Regions from separate parts of the Homo sapiens genome. Here region 2 is linked to region 1. Evidence: promoter capture Hi-C in human tissues and cell types (Jung and others, 2019). All regions are on one chromosome and are shown on one strand. Each heading gives the region's core, a stretch centred on a gene start or on the middle of the fragment in contact. The rest is flanking DNA. Distances are from core to core; before and after follow the strand shown.

Region 1 (7,221 bases), core at 178-2,677:
GCAATGGGACCCCCAGCGCAGCCCCAGGCGCCCTGTTTTCGAGGCTGACATCCCAAGATCCTGTCCTGGTTAGGCACAGCACCGCGCCCGTTGGAGTACTTCTCTGTGACTCTCCCCTGTCCACTGCACTGTGTCCACCCTCCTGGTGAAGGAGGAGACGGCTGTTGGACATGCCAGTCCCAACCTGGCCACTTTGGCCATTTTCAGAGTGCGTGTGTTGGGGTGGGGTTGAGGGAGAAGGATGAAGGATGACCCCCAACCCCAACAGGAGAATTCAAAAATCAGAGAGCGATGAAGGTGAACGCGCTCCCCTCCCCCGCTGTCGCTGGGAAGCCCCACTCTGCCCAGGTCTGGTTCCTGGAGCATCAGCGCCCCCTTTCCCTCGCCGGCAGGATCGTTTCCTCCCGACACTGGCCTCTCGCCTTGGGCGCAGGGTTTGGGGCTCAGCTGTCAATTCCAAGGAATTCGTAGGGTTCGACCCACGCGGCGGGAGGGAACGGAGGGAGAATCAAAAGGCATCCTCCCCCACGACGCGGAGGCGGTGGTACGATTCCTCAAACGCCCAAGCTTGAGCTTTTTTTGTATGCGAGATAGAAGCCAGGGCAACCTCGCCCAGATAACCCCGAAAACAAAGGCACGACCAGATAAGTGACTTCAAGGGAGTAAAGGTCGTTCTATCGGAGAACGTTCCAAACCTACACAGACCCTCTTTTCTTTGTACCGTATTTCAGACCACCCAGTCTTGTACACACACACACACCACACAAAACAAAAACCCATCATTGTCATATTGGACTCAACAGTTTGCCCAATCCTATTAAATAACTAGCAACTATATAGCCCTTCCCCTAAAAGACCCCTAGTTCAAAACGGCGCAACCGCTTGGAGATTTCTCCCGAGGGCCCTATTTCTCGTTGGGCCGAGTTTGTAGAAGGGACATTTCTTGATTCTAGATTTATATTCTCTCTGGGTATTAAATGCAATTTTGTATGTTCCTTTTCTTCTTTTCAAAGAGAATACAAAACTATAGCAGTCTAAGAAAATAACCCCAAAATGGGGAGGCAAACTCATTCTGGAAATGATGGGCTGTTTGTAGTTTCACAAAACCTCTTTCCCGGCAGAGCACCAACACCTCCCCCTTCCACCACCCCCCATCCCATCTGGTCTGCTTCTCCCCGCCCCCCAGTTGTTGTCGAAGTCTGGGGGTTGGGACTGGACCCCCTGATTGCGTAAGAGCAAAAAGCGAAGGCGCAATCTGGACACTGGGAGATTCGGAGCGCAGGGAGTTTGAGAGAAACTTTTATTTTGAAGAGACCAAGGTTGAGGGGGGGCTTATTTCCTGACAGCTATTTACTTAGAGCAAATGATTAGTTTTAGAAGGATGGACTATAACATTGAATCAATTACAAAACGCGGTTTTTGAGCCCATTACTGTTGGAGCTACAGGGAGAGAAACAGAGGAGGAGACTGCAAGAGATCATTGGAGGCCGTGGGCACGCTCTTTACTCCATGTGTGGGACATTCATTGCGGAATAACATCGGAGGAGAAGGTAAGGGAAAAGAAAAAATGATTTTTTGTTTATAAGGGAAGTCCCTGATCAGACTCTGGGACTGGAGAAAGCGAAGTAACTTCAAACTTTGGGCGACAAGAAAAAAAAAAAGGAGCTGGATTCCAGTTGTGTGTCCAGAGAGTAATTTTTTTTTTTCGGAATAAACTTCACTTGGGGACGGGTGGGAGATAACCATAGAGTTAGAAAGTCTAGGTATTTTTTTTAAACACACATTTTCCAGACCTATTTTTAAAAACAATGTTTTTCTAACAACCCTATGGCCTCCCAAAGAAATTGTTTAGGCTTACATTTTTGAGGTTTCTTTTGGGAGTGGGGGTGGTGTTCGTGAATACTGGGCCGAACACCAAGGAACTGGGGGTGGAGGCAGAGGTGTTTGCCCTCTTCTTGGCAGTGGGTCCTGGAAGGCGACAGGTTTTAAATGAGTGTTTTCATTCCTCGCCTGCGGTTTGGCGGGACAGCGCTGCAGCCCATGGTGTGGAGCGCGGCTGGGGGACCAGGGGGAGGTGGGGAGAGGGGAGCGTGGAGGGGAGCGTGGAGGGGGGCGCGCGAAGGGGTTGCGGGGCGCAGGAGGCGGGCTGGGCTCGGCTGGAGACCGGACCTCGGTGTTGGCCTACAGCACAGGGAGCCGGCCGAATGCGCGTGATTACTGGACGGCGCTGCTCTGGGAGAGAGTCGGGGCCAGATTTGGCGCGGCGGTGAGGCGGCTGCGGGACAAGCAGAGGCGCGCGGGCGTGGGCAAGGGTTTGGGGCGCTCTGGAGCGGTTTGTTGGGTCAGTGAGGTGCCAGGGAGAGCGGGTGCCTGCCGGGCAGTGTGCTCGGGTTGCACGCCCTAGCGCGGGGGCGACAGCGGCGGCGCGGGCGGGCGGTCTGGAATAATGACAAACACATTTGGCCCTGAGTGAAGAAGTCGTCGTCGCCTCGCATTCCAGCAACTGGGATTTGAGGAATTTCGAACCGCACACCAAGGGGCCCTCATTGTGCTCCGTGGCCCCCGCCCCCGCCTGTCTTCCCGCGCCCCCTCCTCGGTGGAATCATTTCTGCATTGCCCGGGGGCTCTGCTTTCGCTCAGTTCTGGCCGCAGGCAGGAAGAGAGGAAAGGTCTCCAGGAAGGTGCCGAACTTCTTGTGAGGAAGTTAGGGACGACTTGGAACTGGGGAAACTTGTTTGCAGGTAAGACAGAAAGGTGGGAGGTAAACCATATTCTCCCTCCGGGCACCCGAGCCCTGGACACCCCCTACCCGGCACCCTTCTCCGCGCGGGGGTGCGTGGCACTTGCCGTCTGAGCTCGCCCAGCGCTGCTCGGTCCTCTCTAGTTGGCCTTTTTTCCATTCCTCTCCCTGCCGGCTTCAGAGCCGTCTGTGCGTACTTCTCCTTCCTCTGCTGTCTACCCCCATGGAAACCAGATTTACACACGAAATTAACTCCGCCCGGCTGCGCCCAGGGAGCGGGCGGCGTCCATTTGGCATTGAATATGTGGGATCAGCTGTTCTATTCCGGGAGGGTGTCGGCCAGGTCGGAGCGACGAGTGTGGCCCAACCCGAGTACGTTGCCAGAGGGAGCCAGGAGCCTGGGCCGGGCCAGGTGTGCGAGAGCTGCCGATGGCCTGGCCTCGCGTCTTGGTCGGGAAGGACTTGCTGGCCTGGCAGGCTGTGCGTTGTGCATCCCTCCCGCAGCCAGAGCGCCGGTCCCGCACTTCGCTCCCCGAATTGTGCTAAGACCTCAGGATGTGCGCAAGGAGTGCCTGGAAGAACTTGCCACTCACTCCATCTTCCTGGGTGGGAGGCAAGCATGGATGGGGCCCATATCAGGTCCCTACCGCCCCGCGTCCGAAAAGCCGCGGGCTGGGCGGTGTGGGAAATGGCTTTTTGGCTCCGAGGCCAAATTGCTCAATGTTTTGGACCGACTCGCCTCGCCGCGGTCGCTCCTGACAAGAACTAGACAGATTTTTGGAGCAGGGAGCATCCAGGGCAAACGCACGACAGTCCTCCGCAGTGCATCTCACCGGACAAACATCCCCGGAGCCACAGGAGGGGAGGAAGGGGCTCTCCGGGCGTGCGCACCTCCCCAGCCGCCGCGCTGTCCCATCCCCGACCCCTAATCTGGTCAACCTGGACCCCGGCACTGCTGAATTGCATCCCCTCTTCTCCCTTTCTCCTCGGCCTCCTCCTTTCCACAACCCTCAAGATGAGGAGGCCCTGCCTCGACTCCCCGACAGGCGCAAGGCCGACCAGGCTCGCTTTGACGCCCTGGTCAGGCCCTGCTTCGGAGCTTGCAGTTTTGGGTTGACCCAAGTGCAGCTGGACCTCGTTCACAAGAGTGAGGGGAAGCCAAGAATGAACCCGTCGTTAGCCCCCGGTGCCCTGGCTCTTGTTTAAATCCTTAGATCGAGAAGGACTTGAAGGAGATCCCAGGCTCCCAGCTCTGCGCCCCTGGGCCAGTTTCCTCTCGGGACGCGGACTGAGGAGGGATGCAGGGGGAGGGGCATTGGGCCGGGCTTTCCAGCTGCAAACACGTCTGGCGCCGAGGCGGGCCCATTTTGTGCCTCCTGGGGACGGACCGTGGGCGGCGCGCAGCGGCGGGACGCGTTTTGGGGACGTGGTGGCCAGCGCCTTCCTGCAGACCCCACAGGGAAGTACTCCCTTTGACCTCCGGGGAGCTGCGACCAGGTTATACGTTGCTGGTGGAAAAGTGACAATTCTAGGAAAAGAGCTAAAAGCCGGATCGGTGACCGAAAGGTGTGGGTCTCAGGGTTCCCCGGGTCTAACTCGCCGGGTCCAACCGCAGCATCAGCCTTGGGGCGGCAGATAATCTTTCGGTCTCGCCTGGGGCGCAAGATGCAGGATCGGGGGCAAATGGCTTCTCCCAACTTCCCCCTAATTCGGGTTCTGCCAGATGGTTGTCGTTTGCTGAAGTGGCTCGGCGGCATTTCCTTTTGTTTTAAACTGATCAATGAGCGAACCTGGGATGGGCTGAAAAAGTAGATTGTAGGAGGGAATAATGGGAAACCCGACTTGGGGCGCCTCCTTCCCTGCCTCCTACTGCAGTTTCTCGGCCCCCGCGAAAGGGGAGCGACAAGCGCGGGTGGGCGCGGACTCTTGAGGGGGCAGAGGCGGCTATGGCGCGTGTCGGGCAAGGTGGCACCAGAAGGCACTTTTGTGTGTGTGTGTGACAAGAGTCTCGCTCTGTCGCCCAGGCTGAAGTGCAGTGGTGCGATCTCGGCTCACTGCAACCTCTGCCTCCCAGGTTCAAGCGATTCTCCTGCCTCAGCCTCCCGAGTAACTGGGATTACAGGTGCCCGCCACCACGCCAGGCTAATTTTTGTATTTTTAGTAGAGACGGGGTTTCACCATATTGGCCATGCTGGTCTCGAACTCCTGACCTCAGGTGATCCGCCCACCTCGGCCTCCCAAAGTGCTGGGATTTACAGGCGTAAGCCACCGCGCCCGGCCAGGAACGGTTCTTAAATGCCGAGAGGGCGCATGCTAGCTCTCCTCAGCATTCCCGGTGAGCCGCTACCCACGGCCGTGCGGCTCTCGTGCCCATAGGAGGCGCTGGCGAGCTCCTGTAACCCTAAACCCCTCGGCCCCTTTCCCCCCACCCGCCCGGATTCTCTTCCCGCTCTCCCCCCTCTCTCCACACCCGCCCGGCCCCCTCTCGGGTCTCAGTTGAAAACAATGCAAACGCAGAGCGTCGTGCCTGGGGCGCAGCGGCCTCTGCAGCTCTGAGGTTCAGAGCGCGGCGCGCAGGGGCGCAGGGGCGCAGGTCCCCGGAGCGGCTGGGCATCGCCGCCAACCCCGGGACAACCAAGCCGCCGAGGACTTGGTGGAGGTGGGAGGGAGAGCGGACCGCGCAGTGTTCCTCTGGGTCCCGGGGTCAGAAGCCGGACAGTGGCGGGGGCTGGACAGTCCGAGCGCAGAGCCTCCCGGGCGAAGTCTGCGCGCAGCACTCCCGGCTGCGCTGTCGGGGACCAGGAGCCTGGGCTGCGGGCGAGCTAGCTGGCGAGCCGGGTAAGATTCGCGGGGCTGTCGCGCCCTCTAGTGGGCTCCGGGGACGCATCCCGCTTTCCCCAGCCCCGGGCGGTCGGCGCCGCTATCTCAGTGGAGCGCAGCGCTGGAACCCCGGGGGCCCGGAGCGGAGGCTAATCTGGGTCACCTTTCCCCTCCTCCGGGCAGCCAGTGGACTCCTCGCAGGCTCTGTGTGGGCCCGGGAGGCGCCGGGTGGACGAGAGGGGGCCGAGGTCTCTGGGTTTGGATTGAGAATGGGACGTCCTTGTAATTCAATGTGGGAGAAGCAGGGGAGTGTGGAGGAGGACGGGTCCCGTGCGTTCTTGGGGGGCAGGCGCCGTCTTCTGCGTTCCAGCCCCTCGCCAGCTCCCTTGCCCCGCGGGCGGCCTGTTGCTGTTTGTTTGTTTTACGACCCTGCGTTATTGTGCAACGGTAACAGTCGTTTCCAATCAGCTGCGCGGCCGTCGCGGCCCTCGCCAGGCTGGTTTATGGGGGCGGCGGTGGCGCGCGGACAGATAGGACAGCGCGGCCCGGGAACGGCGTCGAGGTCCAGGCGGTCCCCCTGCCCCGAGGGGGCGGAAATGCTGAGGTGGCGAGAGCGTGGGTTGCACAGAACCCTAGTAGCGAGTCCGGCTGAGCCTCTGCGGCCTAGCCCAGCAGCGTCGTCTTCCCGGCTCCGAAGACGTCTTCCCGAAGCCCCGCTGCCCCGGCGCACCAGCTCCCGGTGATGGGGATGATGATGGGGATGATGGGGAGATGTCCCCGAATTCTCCTGGGGTCCCGAGGAGATTTAGCCATTTTCAACAGCAGTTTTCCTATTTCTGCTTAAACCCCGCGGGCTTTCAACTGAGGTCACCACGAAAGCTAAAAGTACAACCTAAGGAAGGAAGAGACTGGAAATTAACATTTGGGGTAGTGGAGCTCAGAATTCCTCGCAGCGGCGTCTGTGTCGCAACCCGTGGACGCACGTCCTTGGACCAACACTGCCATCTGCTGGCCACTCGTAAGAACTACTGCGACCCGCTGTGAGAATGGGCTTCGCGGAGACCATTAGGAAGGTGCTTTATTTTTTATTTTTTATTTATTTTTTGCTCAGTAGGACCGTAATAGGTGACTGATTTTCTTTTGCTGTGAGGCTACAAGAATTGCTGGAAGACAACATTTTTATTTCGTGGAAATTTGTGTTGTGTTTCTCCTTGGTTGTTAATGCTTTGCATTTACATAGTGAACATCTTATTATCAGAGCTGGCCTGTGAGGAGGGTAGTGGGGGGGCATTGATGTTCCCGTTTCTGAGTGAGGAGACCTATGTCGGGGCCTTGGTGACCTCAAGCCGAATGCTCAAACTGCTACTGCTACTCCTAAGGTTGTGCCATTAGGAGTCACACCCGTTTGGTGATATTCAAAAGGATATGTCATTTTATTCTCCCGTGGTTAAATATATGGTGAGAGGAGAGCAGGCATGTTTATGAGCCCAGATTGTCCCATAAAAGGCTCCTGTTTAAAAACACTCCAGCCCCCTCCCATTACTGGAATGTCTGATGGAGCTCCGGGAGATCAAAACAACAAAACAGGCTCTGGTAGGGTGCAGAGGTCCTGGTAAACACACCCTCTGCTGGAAAACAGGGAGAAGTTTCCACCAGTGTAG
Region 2 (7,652 bases), core at 1,247-3,746, 650 kb before region 1:
ATCTGTAAAATGGGGATAATCACAGGCTACTTCATAGAACTCTTGTGAGGATGAAATGAGATATGATATATAAAGCTCTTAGATTTGCATCTACCACATACTAAGTGCTCAATAATTCTTACATGTATTTGTTACTGAATTCATTGTCTCTAGTCTAGCTCTGTTGGCCCAGAAACTGAAAGCTAGAGCTCCTATAAGGGGCCTTTAAGCTTTGTTCTAATAGGACTCTTTTATTCCATTAGATATTTCGTTTTTTTTTTTTCTTTTTAGACGGAGTCTTGCTCTGTTGCCCAGGCTGGAGTGCAGTGGCATGATCTCTGCTCACTACAACTGCCACCTCCCAGATGCAAGTGATTCTCCTGCCTCAGCTTCCTGAGTAGCTGGGATTACAGGCGCGCGCCACCATGCCTGGCTAATTTTTGTATTTTTAGTAGAGACAGGGTTTCGCCATGTTGGCCAGGCTGGTCTTGAACTCCTGGCCTCAAGAGATCCACCTGCTTTGGCCTCCCAAAGTGCTGGGATTACAGGTGTGAGCCCCCATGCCCAGCCTAGATATTTCTTTTAAACAGTAGAATACTACCACAATACATATTTTCCTTTAACATAGATAGGAGTCAACAATAATCAAGTTTTTCAACATGCTTGCTTTGCATCTAGGAAGTCTCTTGCGTAGAAAGTCAATAAATAGTTTTCAAGCGCCAACTCTGAGCTAGGTCATGAGTTTGATATGCAGACCTTTGAGAGAGACTTAAAGGATATGCTTCTGCCCTCAGGGAGTCCCCATTCCAGAGGTGACATGGACACACACACAAGTAGGAGCCCAGTGCAAACTAGGGCTCTGGGTCAACTTTCATGGTGATTAAGAATCCCACCTTGGGACCAGGCCCGCTTTTGGCTGCATTGGCTGGGGATCACTGGCACCAGGTATCTGCATCTGGGACCCACCCCCTGGGCTGGCTAATCAAGGAGGAAGCAGCAGCAGTGTCTGCTGTGGGGGCCACAGCTCTGTATTGCATCATCCTGGTGGTAGTCACAGTGGCCGAGTGAGTTTCTTGGGGGCCCAGCTTCCTCCAGAGGTGGCAGCAATGGACCAGCTACTAGGGGACCTAAACAGGAGCATGTTTAGAAAGTTGCTGAAGTTTGTGGTCAGCAGCCTGCAAGGGGAGGACTGCCGAGAGGCTGTGCAGTGTCTTGGGGTCAGCACCAACCTGCCGCAGGAGTGGCTGGGTGCCCTACTGGCAGGCATGCACACGCTGCTCCAGCAGGCCCTCCATCTTCCCCCCACCAGCCTGAAGCCCAACACCTTCAGGGACCAGCTCCAGGAACTCTGCATCCCCCAAGACCTGGTCGGGGACTTGGCCAGCGTGGTATTTGGGAGCCAGCGGCCCCTCCTTGATTCTGTGGCCCAGCAGCAGGGGGCCTGGCTGCCCCATGTTGCTGACTTTCAGTGGTGGGTGGATGTGACAATCTCCACCAGTGCCCTGGCTCGCTTCCTGCAGCCGAGGGTCCTGATGCAGCTGAAGCTTTCAGATGGGTTAGCATACCGCTTCGAGGTCCCCATAGCCAAGTTCCAGGAGCTGCGGTACAGCGTGGCCCTGGTCCTAAAGGAGATGGCAGATCTGGAGAAGAGGTGTGAGGGCAGCCTGCAGGACTGACCCCTCACATGACCAGTCCTATTCAGGTCAGGCTTGGACAGGCACCTCAGATGGTGCCAAAGTGCAGCTGACTCTTCCCAGGACAGCCCTGCCCTTCCCATGAGGCAGGCTCTTCATCCAGGTGCTTTTGTAGATCTTGTATTTTAGGTTGGGCATTTTCATTCTTCTGCCTTAAATCCCTGACTTCACAGAGCTGACATTCTAGTGGGGCTAAGGGGAGGGGAAACATTATAAAATAAATAATAAAAATAAATTAAAAAAAAAAGAATCCTGCCTCTTCCCTCAGCCCCAACTCAACTTTCCTCTTTTCCAAAAGTAAATTAAAAGACCTTATGCTTTCCACAAGAACATAAAGACACACGAATAACCTAACAGGAAATTAGCCACATTTGGAAACAGCCCAGCAGTCATAAACTGTATTATATCTCTTTTCTTTTCCAAATAAAGTCGGAGGTTGTTTGTGCAAACATAGCCTTATCTCAAAAAGAAAATACATTGACTTCAGGCTTTCATTGAGTCAGCTTTGTTGTTTACATTTCTGTACTGCAGTAATATGCCTGAGAGGACACTCTAGTGAAGAGGTTGCTGGCAAATGCCCTTAATATAAAAACATTTAGAAATTGTAGCATTTTATTTAGCATCAGATAGGACCACAGAAGGCAAAGATAGAGGGTGCAGGAGGGGGTAAAGTTGTTTCAAGGAAATCTGTATCTATGCAGCTGCTGATTGTCCTCAAGGCTGTTAGAAAGTACTGGAATCTCACAGGAAATACTTTAAGTGACATCAGAAACAGTTGAAAAACAAACATGAAAATGGAAATGGGCCATGCAAAAGATTATCATCTACAATCTATAGGGGAAAAATGGTTCACACAGGATGAACTAAAGCTCTAGGTCTTTTAAAGCTTCTCTGTAGTGTTCTGCCATATAGTCCCACATGCTACAGTCTTGGTTATTCTTTCTCATGATGCTGTAGGGGAATATAAATTCAGGCTGCAGTGCGGCCATACCACTGAAAATACAACTGCATGTTTCTGGGCCATTCCCTTGTTGGTGAAATGGTGGCATTGGACCAGATTTTCGTTTTTCAAACTGTGCTGTGGAAGGCATCAGATACTTCCAGATCTTCCAAGGGAGTGGAGATAGGAGGAAACCAAGGGGGAGCTTTGCCCACTCCTCCAGCTCTGCCATTACTATTATTATTATTTTTTAAAGATGGGGTCATGCTATGTTGACCAGGCTGGTCTTGAACTCCTGGCCTCAAGCAATCCTCCCATCTTAGCCTCCCAAAGTTCTAGGGTTACAGATGTGAGCCACCACACCCCGCCTGCCATTATTTCCTTAATGCATCATGTTCCTCTTAATATTCTGGTCAAAGAATCCTAGCTTTTAAAAAAAACTTGCAAACCACCAGACTAGATCGTGTACAACAGTCCCTTCCAGAAATAGAGTTCTATGATTCTGTGCTAATCAAGTGAGGTTTTTATGTTTTGTTTTGTTTTTGATGATTTGATGTTTGGGAAAAATCCTTTTTTCATCTAACAGTTCTTTGAATATTTACCATGCGCCAGGCACTGTGCTAGGGGCCTTATATTATAGTATATTATGTTATTCAATCCTCACAAATGGCATAGGAAACTGAAATGCAGAGGGTAAATAACTTGTCAATCACACCAAAAAAAGAAACAAAACAGGCAGGGGCTGTCTGACTCCAAGTTTCTGCTCCTACTTCCCTACTTTGTCTCCCAGAATCTTTCTTGATTATGGCTAGTCAGAATCCCAATAATGTAACTCATTAAATACAAGAGACCCAGGAAATTAGAAAGCTTTAAATCTCTTCAGGCTCTATTGCAAGTAGAATCATGTGTTGCTTAATGATGGGGATATGTTCTGAGAGGTGCATTGTTAGGCGATTTGGTCCTTGGGTGAACATCATAGAGTGCACTTACACACACCTTCACGGTATAGCTGACTATACACCATATAGATGTGTAGTCTATGGCTCTTACGCTGCAAACCTGTACAGCATGTAACTGTACCAAATACTGTAGGCAACTGTAACACAATGGTAAGTATTTATATATCTAAACATAGAAAAGGTACAGTAAAAACAGTATTTTAATCTTATGGGATCACCATCATATGTGGAGTCTGTCATTGACCAACATGTCGTTATGGGGTCCATGACTGTAGATATGTCAAAGATCTCTGAAGAAAAAGATTCCTTGATTTCACTGAGTGCTGAGGCAGAATGAATGGAATGGAGTAAGCAAAAATGGCAGATTTAGCTCCACCTCCAATTTTCTTTTATCTTTTCCCTTCCTTTCTTTTTCTTTCTGAGAGCAATTTGAATTCCCTGGCACTTACCCATGTGGATAAACCAAATTCTTAATATTATGTTAATGTAAACACTGCTGTATATATTTTCTGACTTTATTTTAGACTAAATAAAGCCTACATGAATAGAAACAGATTATGAGATAATTGACTGAACAAGCAGTTTTGGCTCTAAGGGAAAGAACCAGGTAGACTTAAAAAATATGATTAATATCTCCCTGGTGGTTCTTATTTGCAGTGTATAGCTTATAAACATGTATGATGTATCACGTTTTCAGACATATCAGAGCCTTGCTGCTGAATGGAGAAGAAATTATCAAAAATCATTAAGCCTGAAAAGGTAAGCTAGTTTCTCCCACCAAAAGTAAGAGAGAGGGCCTGTCAGCTTTGTGTCCATATAAATTTACTGAATGTATCAGCCATCAGCATCTCTGGCCCTAACTGAAGTAAGTAGACAGAGCTGTGATACAGTGTTTTGGCAGTTTAGAGTAAGAAAGAGTAGTGGAGTGGATTGATTCCCTCCTTACGTACGTGTATGATGGGTACGGTGGAAATCTTACACTTTTTCAGTATAACCCTGTGGTGCCTTAGGAATCACCCTTTCCTTCTTTCTGATCTGGAATAGGACAGAAACCAGAGGTGATTTTTAGAGATATATGGAGCCAAAACCCCCAATCTAGTGCTGAAAAGCACCCAGAAAAATAAAAACCCCCATCTCTTTTTGGTCCTAATCCCTGCTTCCTTTCCTATGATTTTATTGTCTAGCCTAAAACCTGTATAGAAGCTTCTCTGCCTAATTCTCAAATTTTGAACTTCCTGGATGACAATAAAGACACATACCAGAGCAAAAGCCAGTTGGTGCCGCCTGCAACCAAGAGGGTCATTCGAGATCGTGTGTCTACTGTCAACGCACTAGACAGATTTAAGAACAGCCTTTGGAATACAGCCTGTTTGGAAGTGGAAACATTTCTGCATCAGGTAACTCATCAGAACAATGGGATCCTTGGTGTGCTGTTGTCCTGCTAATTCTCCTTTCAATGCACCCTGGCTTTATAGAAAATGGTTATCAGATGTAGTTGCCAGAATAAACCACATACTCCACTAGAAGGACAATTGGATAAATATAACATTTGGCATGTGGCAACGATAATTTTACGTGTTCTTCCCATTGAAAGGACAAGATTTGACCCTAAAGCATCTCTGAAATTGTTGCCTGAGTCACAGTTTTCTAGTAATAGGAGGAGGATTCCATATTATGAAAAAGAATCCTTCTTTATAGTCACATGGCGGTGTGTCCTGCATTGGCACTTTAACCTTGTCAAAGATGAAACACTATAGCCACAGACTCTGAGTCAAAAGGAAGCCTGACAGATGAGAAAGGCCTTTATTACTTTATAAAATAGATGATTCTACCTTTGGATAGCTTTGATTAATAGAGGAAAAAGTCCACATAATGAGCAAAATTTTCCTTTCCTATACCTCACCTGCCCTTTCCACAAGTGCCACCGTTACCCTAGGAGCTCTTTAGAATATGCCTAACTTTTTAAGTCCTTTAATTATTTGAAGACAGATCCCATGTTCTCCCCCAGGGCGAGTAGCCTCGGGTTCAGTCAGTATTTCTTTCACATCCAAATCTCTTCTGCAAGCTCCCCAATTTATCAGTGTCTCTCCTATAATGTATGGGTAGAATGAACTCCAAAACTCCATGCCAGAGTGAAGTGAGGGAATCTGTTCCCTTGATGTGACTGCCAGACAGCCTGAAACTGCATCCACTTTCTTGCAGCAATAGCACACACTACTGCTGTTACTGGAGTGGGTAGAGGAGGAGACACTGCCCTGAGGCCTGGAGAAAACAATTCCTGGAGGTGGTGGAGGAGGTATATATCTTACGAGTAAAAAGGTAGAAATGAAGAAGTTTTTAAAAACAAAAGCAATGGCTATGAATGAAGCTTAGAAAATGCAAAAATATGTAGTGGCATTAGGTGGATTTATATAAACAGAAGATAGTCTTCAGTGGCTAAATAGTTCAGTACTGGAACTCATAATGTATATCCAATCCTTAGAACCATTGCTATCTGAGGAATGTGGGGCTCTCTTATTTGTTTGTAAACGTTCCTTTACTTTGATAAATCTCATTCCAAAATGTACCAACATAGTAAATAACACAAGAAAAGGGAAATGAAAACCATTTAAACAAATGATAAATCAGACATAATTTTTCCAACCCAGAAGTACAAAAATACTGAAGAACTTCCACTGACATTCACTATAAATGAAAAAGTTTAAACAGTGACAGGCCACAAGCAACTGATGGAGAGGCAATGGGAGGAAATGAAGCCTGCAGCTCCAGGTGCTCCGTGTCCCCACCCCACCCCCAAAAGATGCACAAATACTTGAAAAAGGAAAGTATCCAAGGAGGTATACTGGTCACCCGGGACCATGACAGTTGTACCCTTATCAGTTGCAGCCTGAGGTCAAAGGAAAAATGTATGTCCTGATATGTACATTTTTATTTTTTAATGGCTAATTTTTTTCAGATCATTAAGGAAGTTGAAAAATGTGGAAAACATGAAGAGTAGGTATATCAAAACTTAAAACATCAATTTAAGTTTAAATATTTTATTTATTCTCCAAACAATTTTAGAAATAGTTTTGTTTTCCTGGCTTTAAAGGAAACACACTCATCATTTTTTCCAAAAACCTTCCTCTTTGCTCACTGTATTAGTCCATTTTCATACTGCTATGAAGAAATTACCCAAGACTGGGTGATTTATAAAGAAAAAGAGGTTTAATGGACTCACAGTTCCATATGACTGAGGAAGCCTCACAATCATGGCGGAAGGTGAAGGAGGAGCAAAAACATGTCTAACATGGTGGCAGGCGAGAGAACATGTGCAGGGGAACCGCCCTTTATAAAACCAACATATCTCATGAGACTTACTCACTATCGCAAGAATAGCATGGGAAAAACCCGCCCCCATGATTCAATTACCTCCCCTTGCGTCCCTCCCACAACATGTGGGGATTATGGAAGCTACAATACAAGATGAGATTTGGGTGGGGACGCAGCCAAACCATATCACGCATCTTGTTTTTGATTGAGGAAATTGCCATGTTTGATCATTTCTCTTAACTAAGTGATGATCTTAAACAATTTCTAAATAACTTTAGCTTACTGATCTTGTCTTTATTTGAATACATTTTGATCTTTTGTTCATCATGGATTGTTTGCATTCATTTTGCATTTTTTTAAATATTGCATTCACATTAGGATTACTGAATTTTTCTGCACCTTAAATTTTGCACCTGAAGGTGAGTGTCTCACTTGCCTCACCTTAATTATGACCTTGTCACTGTTAATTTTAGAAACCTAAGAATATCAAAACTGTGGTTTGGATGCAGCTCTGCTACCAACTACTTTTTTGGATCTTGATATTTTCCTTTTACCTGACCTGGTGGCCAGCCAGCTACAATGACAAAACAGTAGAATTACAAACTCTTCCCAGGTGTGCCACTAAACTTCACCCAAGGTCAGAATTGATTGTTGCTTCAGCTGATTGTTACACTTGACAGAGACACACAGGTGAACAGTTTGCTGAAGGGTTCACAAGGCAAGAGGAATGACTCGCTTCAAAGAAGCAAAGAATGTAACCTAGGGCCA

Evidence for each region. The method cuts DNA at HindIII sites, captures the fragments that hold promoters and counts their contacts. A contact is called where the count stands out against the background at its distance.
Region 2: a contact is called between a fragment that was not itself captured here and the fragment with the promoter of PDGFRA in region 1, in 2 of the 25 tissues and cell types used here (IMR-90 fibroblasts and aorta).

The regions. Positions count from the first base shown.
Region 1 is chr4:54,227,866-54,235,086 of GRCh38, forward strand. It overlaps PDGFRA (platelet derived growth factor receptor alpha), which reads left to right and starts at 1,428. Exons shown (of 23, transcript NM_006206.6): 1 at 1,428-1,550. RefSeq lists enhancers at 1-726, 5,458-6,008, 5,819-5,938, 6,446-6,495 and silencers at 5,489-5,598, 6,560-6,667. The HindIII fragment of the contact is 9,376 bases long and covers 1-5,065 here.
Region 2 is chr4:53,574,733-53,582,384 of GRCh38, forward strand. The region is part of intron 1 of LNX1 (ligand of numb-protein X 1); the gene reads right to left. It also overlaps the pseudogene COMMD5P1. Among named protein-coding and RNA genes, the nearest start is that of LNX1, 13 kb to the right of the region's middle. The HindIII fragment of the contact is 3,261 bases long and covers 867-4,127 here.